3 separate regions of the Homo sapiens genome follow, and all the other regions are linked to region 1. The links are contacts of gene promoters, found by promoter capture Hi-C in blood cells and fetal thymus (Javierre and others, 2016). All regions are on one chromosome and are shown on one strand. Each heading gives the region's core, a stretch centred on a gene start or on the middle of the fragment in contact. The rest is flanking DNA. Distances are from core to core; before and after follow the strand shown.

The links. The method cuts DNA at HindIII sites, captures the fragments that hold promoters and counts their contacts. A CHiCAGO score of 5 or more calls a contact.
Region 2: a contact is called between a fragment that was not itself captured here and the fragment with the promoter of CLU in region 1, in 2 of 17 cell types (naive B cells and M0 macrophages). The highest score is 6.6, in naive B cells.
Region 3: a contact is called between a fragment that was not itself captured here and the fragment with the promoter of CLU in region 1, in 1 of 17 cell types (neutrophils). The highest score is 5.4, in neutrophils.

The regions. Positions count from the first base shown.
Region 1 is chr8:27,613,039-27,616,596 of GRCh38, reverse strand. It overlaps CLU (clusterin), which reads left to right and starts at 1,897. Exons shown (of 9, transcript NM_001831.4): 1 at 1,897-1,942. RefSeq lists enhancers at 1-18, 309-809, 1,766-2,265 and silencers at 1,654-1,743, 3,299-3,484. The HindIII fragment of the contact is 8,616 bases long and covers 1-3,558 here.
Region 2 is chr8:26,696,448-26,700,193 of GRCh38, reverse strand. No RefSeq gene overlaps it. Among named protein-coding and RNA genes, the nearest start is that of ADRA1A, 170 kb to the left of the region's middle. The HindIII fragment of the contact is 718 bases long and covers 1,959-2,676 here.
Region 3 is chr8:26,671,555-26,675,438 of GRCh38, reverse strand. No RefSeq gene overlaps it. Among named protein-coding and RNA genes, the nearest start is that of DPYSL2, 160 kb to the right of the region's middle. The HindIII fragment of the contact is 1,082 bases long and covers 1,755-2,836 here.

The DNA of each region.
Region 1 (3,558 bases), core at 648-3,147:
TTCTGAACCTTGTTTGCTTAGTAGTGGGAATAATCAAGTAATTATTCCCAAGGGATCACAGTCATGACTGTGAATCTGTGAATCATGCTATTTTCTCCCAAGTCCTTTCTTCCTCTCTTCCCTTCCCCTAATTCAGCTGGCTAAGGCGGATCTCACTGACTGACCTCCAAAGTCTAATTTTTAAAAATATAACTAGATTTATGCCTTCTGTTCCGGATGCTGAGGGAGCTACAGAACAGAAAAGTTACAAGGAGCGAGCTCAAAAACAATTCTTCTAACCTCAGGTATTGATAAGGAGCAGGCACTGATAAGGAGCAGGCACTGTCCACAGAAAATGTAGCTGTTACTGATAATTAGACATTTTTTTTTTAAGAAAAATAAAGTGTAGCCTCTTCTGGGACATTTTTTTCTTCTTCTGGGTTAATGGCCTTCTAATACTTGGCTTGGCTCTAGGTTAGGTTGCAGGGAGCCGTGGAGATGATCCATTCCCGATTCCTCATCGTCCAGATGGAAGAAACTGAGGCCCAAGGGCAAAGTGATTAGTCCGAGGTCACCCAGTGTCTAGGGGCACACCTAGGACTGTAATCAGACTTTCATGGACCTGGTCTGGGTTCTCCCACTTAGTCATGGGCCTTGAAGATTCCCCGAGGCTGCCTCCTGAAAAGGACTGGGGTCCTAGTGGCCCCTGGACGTTGGGCAAGCAAGGGACTGGGCCTCCATGTTGTGCCTCCATAGTCCTGATCCTGAACTGGAAAACTCAGCCCCTGACCACGCAGCTCTCCTTTAAGCCCCTTTGTTTCACATGGTTTTCAAAGTCTGCCACCCACAGTGGGGCTGCCTGTACCCGCCCTGTCCACCCATTGCCCCAGCTGTCAGCCCCTTGACTTCTCTCCTGGGGCTTAAACATCCCTGGCTCCAAAATGGGCAGCTCACTTTCTTCCCCAAGAAGTAGCTGCACCTCCAGGGTTCCTAGATTTGCCCCTCCTTGCCAGGGGGAGGGGTGGCTGCGACAGGAGATTCTCCCTGCTCTCAGCAGAAGGAACTCCAGCAGTTGGAGACCAGCAAACCCCTCTGGACACAGATCTGATTTCCTAACTGGGAAGGCTCAGGGCAAAATAAAAATTCAGGTCCACTGGTTCAAAAACTATGAAGAATTTCAAGACCGTCACAGTAGCCCATTAAACCAAACGTGGATCTGCAAGGGTCCCACAGCCATGAAGCCCACCCTGCTTGGTTGGGTTCCAAAAAGATGGGGACAGTGATTGCTTAAGCTCTGTGGATCAAGGACCCCGGAGAGGCCTTCTGGCTCTCCACATATCTGCTCTGATCACTCCTAAACACAATTCTGTTTCCTCCAGGCCTGGCGGGTCAGTCCAGGGACCCCCATCAGTGTGATGTTTCCAGGAGTAGGCGTTTCAATACTTCCTGTGCTCTCTTCTCCAGCACAAGGCCCCTCTCCATCCCACCCTCATTATGTCTGACTCTTTACTATTTAAATGGGTCAAGAGAAGTGGCGCTTGTGTAATGTGAAGGTTAAGGTCAGTAGGGCCAGGGAACTGTGAGATTGTGTCTTGGACTGGGACAGACAGCCGGGCTAACCGCGTGAGAGGGGCTCCCAGATGGGCACGCGAGTTCAGGCTCTTCCCTACTGGAAGCGCCGAGCGGCCGCACCTCAGGGTCTCTCCTGGAGCCAGCACAGCTATTCGTGGTGATGATGCGCCCCCCGGCGCCCCCAGCCCGGTGCTGCACCGGCCCCCACCTCCCGGCTTCCAGAAAGCTCCCCTTGCTTTCCGCGGCATTCTTTGGGCGTGAGTCATGCAGGTTTGCAGCCAGCCCCAAAGGGGGTGTGTGCGCGAGCAGAGCGCTATAAATACGGCGCCTCCCAGTGCCCACAACGCGGCGTCGCCAGGAGGAGCGCGCGGGCACAGGGTGCCGCTGACCGGTGAGATGTCCCCGTCTTCCCTACCCTTGAGCAGAGCCACACCAGGACGGATGGGCGGGCAGGGGATGGCAGCCAGGCAGAGAGGGATGACACAGCTCGCAGTCACAACCCCTGCGCTTTCGACGGAGCCCAGGAAGCCAGGGAGGGGAGGTGGCCGGAGCCCCATCACCAGGCAGCTGAGCCAGGGGCCCCGGCGCAACCGCCGCCTGAGAGCACGAGCTCCAACCACAATTCTGTGGTGGGGGGGTAAATAGAACAGATATAATGATCATCCTTTCGCAAAGATGGGGAAACTGAGACCTGGAGACCTGCCGCGTTGCGGGAGACCCAGGCTAGCAGGTGACAGAGCTGGCCTGCACCGAGCTCCTTCCTGCAGCATATCCTCTGCGAAGATGCGGATCTCTCAGTTGTGGCTTTCGGCTTGCATGCATGAGTCATCTAGTTTTCTTCTAAATTCTCTAGCTCTCTGGACACTGTTGCCTGTAAGTATGAGGCTGCGGATTTCAGTATATGCTGCAACCACCGAAATCCGACTTTTTCTGCCTCCTAATGCATCTGAGGTGCATCAGAGAAAAGTCACACAAGATCCACCAGGCCTCAGACCTCTGATTCCACAGTCTCATTTTACAGATGATAATCTGAGGCCTGGAGAGGTTTAGGACTGGTGCCAACACTAAACAGCAAATAAGTATCAGAATTGGGATTCGAGCCAAAGCCTCTTGACCTTCCAGAATTTCTGGACCTAGTTAAAAAAAATATGATTTTTATTATTATTTTTTAAACGGAGAGGTTAGGAATTTAAAGGAAAGTACAGATACTATATAAAAAAAGATGCCCATGAAAATGTTAAGTTATAATAATAGTGGAGCATTGGGCACAACTGAAATGGCCAATCTTGTGAGAATGGTAAAATAAACTTAGGTCCGTGAGTAAGTGGAGTATTACATAGCCATAAAAGTATGCCCTTAAAGAATATTTGAAGATGGTGAATGTGAAGAATCTTGTATAAACTGCATGGAAGACAGAAGGAAATATACCACAGTGCTAACCTTTGCCTCTGGGTGATATGAATTACCGGTGATTATTTTTCTTATTTTCCTTTTGGTTTAGTTTTCTCCATTTGAAGAAGCAGATAGGAGCCGGGGCTTTGGGATTGAAACCCTCACCATCTGTGTGCCCTCTTCACTGTCTTCCCATCCTCCCCACGGCTCCCTGTTCACAGTCATTGATTTTCTTTCTTTCTTTTCTCTCTTTTTTTTTTTTTTTCCTGAGACCAAGTCTCACTCTGTTGCCCAGGCTGGAGTAGAGTAGCGCCATCTCGGCTCACTGCAACCTCCGCCATCCGGGTTCAAGCAGTTCTCATGCCTCAGCCTCTGAGTAGCTGGGACTACAGGCGCATGCTGCTACATCCGGCTAATTTTTGTATTTTTAGTAGAGACATGGTTTCACCACCTTGGCCAGGCTGGTCTCGAACTCCTGATCTCAAGTAATCCGCCTGTCTTGGCCTCCCAAAGTGCTGGGGTGACAGGTGTGAATCAATGCGCCCTGCCAGGTCATTGATTTTCTTAAGCCTCCAGCCCTGCCCTGCTTGGAAACGTTTTGGGAAGCTGCTCAGT
Region 2 (3,746 bases), core at 1,068-3,567, 920 kb after region 1:
CCCGGCCAACATGGTGAAACCTCGTCTCTACTAAAAATAAAAAATAAAAAATAAAAAAAATAGCTGGGCATGGTGGCGGGTGCCTGTAATCTCAGATACTGGGAAGGCTGAGTCAGGAGAATCATTTGAACCCAGGAGGTGGAGGTTGCAGTGAGCCAAGATCGCACCATCGCACTCCAGCCTGGAGGACAGGGCGAGATTCATCTCAAAAAAAAAAAAAAAAAAAAGAATATTGGATAGTGACCACATTTTTAAGAAGTGAAATTGGAGTAAGTAGTGAGGGGCAGGAATCAACAAGCATAAAACTTGGCTAAATTTCAACCCTGGCCTTACAGCATTGACAGAGGAAGGTTGCTGACACTGTTATCAATGTTTAGTACCGGAATCTCTTGTGCTTTCAACTGGTTCTCACAGACAGGTCATAGGATTCACCCCAGAGAGACTCTATGAACATAGAGGAAAGCCACCCGAGAGCAAATGTGGCCCAGTCTGTATCATTAAATCTAATCAGCCCTTACCAAGCTGAGAGAGCGTAGAGAGAAACTCTGAACTCTCCTCCAACAGTTAATATTTATTAATGAGCCCCCAACTCCAGTTCTCACAAACTAAGTGCTGTCAGAGGTGTAAGTGTCAGTAAAGCAGACAAAAATTACTATAATATTTTGTTGCACTTCAGCCATAAGCATAGTCACCAAGCACAGACACTTCCAAACGTTGATTTCACAGAGCTTCAAGTTGAAAGGAATCCATTTCAGGTGTCCCATGGAGGTGTACTTTCTATGAGGAAGGCAGGGGCTTTTGGCTGAAGAAATGGAGGAGTTTGTTGGTGCACTCCAACTTGAACGCATCCCTGACTTCCACAAATATGCACAGAAGCTTCTAAATATTTATCTGGATTTCTAGAACTGGAATTTAAGTTCTACTTGAAAGTCCTAGCGATCCACAGAAGCAAGCAATCCAATAGTAGCCGTTTGATTTTTTTAATATCAAAATAATAATAGTTAGCAAACAAACTCATTGTACTTAAAAGCTGGCTACAGTGAGCATTCAGAGGAGCTTCTAAATGGGATCTCATGCCATCAAAAACTAGAAGCAAAGCTCTGAACCCTTTGCAGTCCTCCCTAAAGTGTCAAGGAATCCACACCATCAATTCCTTGTATTTTCACATACTGCCAAAAAATGTCACAAGACTATGAATTTTCTAGCAGGGGAAAGAAAAGGCCTCCTGTAGCATTGAAAATGTCTTCTTGAGACTCCATTAAGCAAAGACCAACACTCACTGTGTTTCCTGTGAACACACCTGTGTTAATCATACGGTTTGTTGAGTGAAATGGAGTTAGCTGACATATAACTACATTTTCCTAACTGTATCACTTTCTGACAGATGGTTACAAACTTCACTTTCACTGTCTAGGAAGTGAATTAAGCAATAGAGCTTGTATGACTTGTATGAGCTTGTATGAACTAGAGTTCTGTAAAATTCTTATAAACAAGCTGAGGTTTGCAATAGGCTTCTCAAATGCTTCCAACCTGACCGCATTAATGCAATAGCACATTTTGAGGGGTGAAGTGTCTCGGTTCTCCTTGACATTGCAAAGAATTCTTACCTTTGCCTACAGGAAGTCCAATTTTAACTAATAAACTGGTAAGAATTTGCTATGTATAAGTTTTTAGCAAGAAAATGTATTTATTAGAGATTTAACAAGTATAGACAGAAGTATACAAATATTACTGTCAGATATGAGGACTGAAATCAACATGTTGACACCAATGGCTTTCCATTTTCCTTTAATCAAGAGATCTACTTTTTGTTTTCATTTTGTTGTTGTTGTTTTTATTTTGAGCCTCATAGCAGGTGCAAGTAAGGCATTAACAGCCCTGGACACCCAGCATTCAAAGAAGCCTTCAATGTGTTGGCCTGCACTGTTTAGGGCCAGCTTCAAAGCTTCTCCAAAGCTTTGCAAAGTACACACCAGCTACTCCATTCAAGTCTCCTTAAAAAATTGTTTTCAAAGTTCTGTGGCCTCTCAAATGAAGACATTGACATATTTTGTTTGTCCAACAGCCCTAACTAAGGTGAGCCTTCAAAGAAGCCTCTAGATGTTGTTCTCGCCGGCCAGGCAGAGAGCACAGGTGCAGGAGGTGGCTCACTCAGTCCTCATGGGACCTCCAAGAAATTCACTTTCATTCACCCTGTGAGGCATTTCTGTAAATTGGACTTATAAACGCAAAACATATATAAGGCAGTAAAACAAAGGATTACCATGCTACTCGATTAGTCGTCAGCCAGCAGCCTCGTGGACTCCAACTAAGACTCCCCGGCCTTTTTCTCTTGGCCAAGGAATAGAATGCAAATTGTGCTCCTCTAAACTTTGCAACGTGTGTAGGAGTAAACTGTAGGGATGGTGGACCAAGGGGGAGAGGACACAGCATGAGACAGGGCTAAGTGTACTAAGTACTAAGTACTAAGTAGCCCTAAGTAGTACTAAGACCCCTATCAGTACATAGGGGTCAAACCGCTGGACATGTGGGATTGAACATGTTAGCTACTGTAATTGAGATTAGTTCTAATGGTCTGCTTGGCTGGGAGATTATAACTTAGTGGTAGCCTATATTCACCAAGGTTGGGATTCCAGAACTTTCCTGGTATAATGTAAAGGACAGAGTTCAAAAGCTTATGGATATGGTAATGTTGGGCTGGATTTATCATACGCAACCTGTACACCAAGCCTCACCCCTTCTTCATCCCCGAAGAGGGCATTCTCTTGACTACGACCTTGAGAATCATAGCAGTGGGCAAAGCAGCAGTGTCCTAGCAAAGCTCTCTGGGGCCCATCTCCCGGATCCCAGTGTGACCCTGTAGGATGCCTCTACTGAGATGGGCTCCCTGATTTCAGGGAGGAAGATGACCAACAGAGGCCAAAGGCAGCACTTAACTGTCAGAGACAAGGTGGGCACATCTAGAGTGACGAGCAGCAGGAGCGACTTGGTGAATGGGATCCGCACAGATCTTTGGTACAAGGTGGCTCATGTATCACAGTGTCCCTGGGAATGCAGTGCATGGACAGCCTACTAACATAGCTCTTGGTCTGCAGAGTCGCCACAATGGGGAGTCTTGCATCACTCCAATGGAAAAACTTTCCTCCAGTTTCTAGACACAAGCCCTTTCACAGACCCTTCATTGAAGAGACCAAGTCACCTTAAGGAAGGCCCCTGCAACCCTGTCACAAGTATGTGCTGCTCCTTGCCTTCTCCCAAAGGGTATGCAACCTTAAGAAATGGTGATCATGCACTAGAAAGAAGAATCTCTGGACCTTTTGTGCATTACAAGACCCTAGCTTGGAACTGATGCTTGCTCCCAGGGACCCAAAACATCCATGTGATCTACTAGTCAAAGTGGGAGGAATGGTCTAATAGTCAGCTGACAAATGGAGTTTTAGCTCAAGTCCAAATCACAGCAGGCCCAGTAGGTACAAGGACATCCCTACTATCACTTCTCCATGTCCCGGATGCACAGAGTCACCACACTCAATGTGGTATGAGGAATGCCCACGTTGGCTCTCTGATCCCTACGATGAGCACTACTTTCTATCTTAGCAGAAAGGCCTTGGAACATCCCCTCTGCTAGGATAGAAACCCAGAGCTTTACTATATCCCTAGGAGAATCTGCAGAAATTAAGGCCACCATCAAAGACTCGAAGGAAGAAGTGGTGATACTTATCACTTTGCTCATTTTACAGATCTGT
Region 3 (3,884 bases), core at 1,046-3,545, 940 kb after region 1:
ACAGAAGGACAATGCTGCATGAGTCCACTAATATGAGATAGCTAGAGTAGTCAAAATCATACAGACAAAGTGGAGTGGTGATTGCCAGGAATGGGGGCCAGGGGGAAGGGGGAGCTGGTGCTTAATGAGGACAGAGTTTCAGTTTCACAAGATGAAAAAAGTTCTGGAAATGGGTGGTGGTGATGGTTGTACAAGAGTGTGAATATACTTTATGCCATTGAACTGCACACCTAAAAGTGATGACATGCTTAAAAATAAAATAAAATAGAGATGGCTACTAAGAGGTTAAGTCACAACCCTGAAGCCAGGAGATATTCTCACTCTAAAGGCCCCAGGTTCATGTTTTAATTTTCAAATACACAAAGGGGACCCTAAGAAACAGGCAACAGGAGGCCGGGCGCAGTGGCTCTTGCCTGTAATCCCAGCACTTTGGGAGGCCGAGGCGGGCAGATCACCTGAGGTCTGGAGTTCGAGACCAGCCTGACCAACATGGAGAAACCCTGTCTCAGCTAAAAATATAAAATTAGCCGGGCTTGGTGGCACATGCCTGTAATCCCTACTCAGGAGGCTGAGGCATAAGAATCACTTGAACCCAGGAGGCAGAGGTTGTGGTGAGCAGAGATCACGCCATTGCATTCCAGCCAGGGCAACAGGAGTGAAGCTCTGTCTCAAAAAAAAAAAGAAAGGAAGAAAAGAAACAGGCAACAGGAATTGACTTGCCCGTAAAGAAGAACATCTTGGCTGGGTGATGACAAGGTGCTCGTCTTAACATGGATAACTGGATGTTTATCGCAGGAATTTCATGCACCTTGGTGCATGCTGGTCCTGCTTGTCTCAAGGCAGGGATTCTCTTGCATAGATGGGATACTCTGTTCCCATCAGCCTCCTGCTTGCTCCGGGACAGGGATTCTCCTGCATAGATGGGATGCTCTGCTCCCATCAGCCTCTCTCAGTTTTACTCACGTTGTGACAGTGTCAAGTTCTCTAGTCCTGACTAAGAAGGGTTTAATTTCTTCTGTTGCTGGTAAAGATGTAGCCAGGGGCTTCTGTCTTGGTCAAAGTATTGCTTAGATCAATTACATAAAGCTATACCTGATCAATCCTGTGTTTATCTCCCTGGTGAAAGAAAACCCTAAGTCAGGCCGGGCGCAGTGGCTTACACCTGTAATCCCAGCACTTTGGGAGGCCGAGGCGGGTGGATCACCTGAAGTCAGGAGTTCGAGACCAGCCTGGCCAATGTAGTGAAACCCCTTCTCTACTAAAAATACAAAAAATTAGCCAGGCATGTTTGGGGGACACCTGTAATCCCAGCTACTTGGGAGGCTGAGGCAGGAGAATCACTTGAACCCAGGAGGCAGAGGTTGCAGTGAGCCAAGATCGTGCCAGTGCCCTCCAGCCTGGATGACAGAGTGAGACGAAAGAAAGAAAGAGAGAGAGAGAGAGGGAGGGAGAGAGGGAGAGAGAAGAAGAAGAAGGAGGAGGAGGAGGAAGAGGAGGAAGAGGAGGAGGAGGAGGGGAGGGAGGAGGAGGGGAGGGAGGAAGGGAGGGAGGGAACACAGAGGAAGCACATGTTTCCTTGTAATTGGTGTCAAGGGGCTCTATTACTTTAAGGAAGCCTCTCCCACATGTCAAGTATTTAACTCTCCTCCACTCTTTACACATAAAACAAACCAAACATTCCCTTAATTACACGTATTTATAATCTAATTATGGTTCTGGGCTCAGACAGTTTTATGGGCAAGTCTTTTTAAGCTTTCAAACAGATAATTTTTATGTTATATAAACTATTCTGCAGCCCACAAACATGGAAACAATCCTAATTAATTTAAGAAGCCACCCTAGCCTTAAGTGTCAAAGCCTGACAAAACTAACATACACATTCAAAAACCCTTTGACCTGTCTCAACTATAGATATTGATCTAACATTCTAAATACAACTCTACACAAATTGATATCAGCTTCATTAGAAAATAATATCCATGAATTAATATCATTTGTCACTTCAGTAGTGGCAAATGAAAACCACAAGTTCATCCCATTAAGATTTGTTAAAATGTGGTACCTGCTCTTTAAAAAAAGGACTTACTAAAATAGGAATGTAATAATACTTTTACAAATAAAAAGTATCTATGTGACCACAAAAGCTAGAAATGTATCTAGTACCTACTAGATACTAGCCATATCTACATATTTCTCTAAATGTATCCCAAATAATTTTAGTTCTGAAGGATTTTATAAGTGTCACGTAAAAAAATGATGCTATGATAAAATAAATTTGAGAAATAATTAACCAAATTAAACAAGATTTCATATATGTATTCTAACTCCCCAAGTGCTTCATACCCATTTGACCTATATCACATTGTTTCCACAGAGCATCTCCCCAGACTGGCATTTTATAGAAATTTGCTTTGGAATATGTTACAGGGATGGTCTCCCAACAATGTGGAAAACCAAATAATGATGCTGCTGGCTCCACTTTGACACTGTCCTAAAATTTCAGATCCAGTCATTCTCAGCTAATAGGCTGGTATGGCTTGATATAACAAGTAGATGAATAATCACTGTGGACATTAGGATATTTCAAGAACTCCATCAACCAACTTGGCCTACCGACATTTATAGAACCCTCCATTCCCTCTCAGCAGAATACTCATTTTTCTCAAGTGCATTTGGAACATTTTTCAAGATGGATCATATTTAGGCTCATAAAATATGTCTCCATAAATTTAAGGTTATTTAAGTTCACACCATGTAAGTTCTCTAACTACAATGACTTTAAGTTAGAAGTCAGTAACAGAAAAATCTCTGGATCATTCCCAAATACTTCGAAGCTTAATAGCATATTCCTCAATAACTCATGGGTAAAAAGAAAATGAATACGGTAACTTCAGTGAAACTTATAGCACTAAATGCCTTCATTGGAAAAGAAAAAATACATCAGATTCCACTTCAGAAAACTAGAAAAAGGAGAGCAAATTAAATTCGTCCTAAATAGAAGAAAAGAAATTATGAAAATCAGAGTGAAGTATCAATTAAATGCAAAACAGTAAAACAATAGAGAAAATCAACTAAACTATTAGCTAGTTTTTTCAGATCAATGAAATTGATAAACTAACCATTGTGATAAGGAGAAAAAGGGAGATGATGCAAATTACTAACATTGGGAAAGAGAGGATGACATCACTGAAAATTCTATTAATATTAAGAAGATAATAAGGAAATATGATTAACAATTCTATGCCAATAAATTCAACAACTCAGACGAAATGGACAAATTCCATGGAAGACACAAACTACCAAAGCTTACTCAAGAAGAAACAGATAAACTAAATAGCCCTATGCCTATTAAAGAAATTGAATTTGTAGTTTAAAAACATTCCCACAGAGAGAACTCTAGGTCCAAATGGTTTCAATGGTCAATTCAACCAGTCAAGCAGTTAAGGAGGAAATAATACATTGAATACATTCTTGCATTAAATTAAAAAAGAAAGAACACATCCCAAATCATTATAGGAAGCCAATATTATGCTGATACTTTACTTTTTAAATATGTTCTTACATTTAACATACATTACTTTTCTTTTGTTTTAAATCGTTATTTTAAAAAGCTTGTTTGGTCTATGTTCCATTCACCTAAGGTGCTAAGTCTTAATTAGTACAGATAAATGAATCAGCATGAATAGTATATAGGCAGCTAATATATTACCTATTTCGGGTATCATAATACCTGTAATCCCAGCTACTCAGGAGGCTGAGGCAGGGGGATCCCTTGAGTCCTTGTGGTTTATAGTTCATCACAACACTGATCAGATGAAATAACACAAATGCAGTGACAGTGCTGAGCCTCATTCCCCATACATCCAGTGTGATACGAAAGCCAG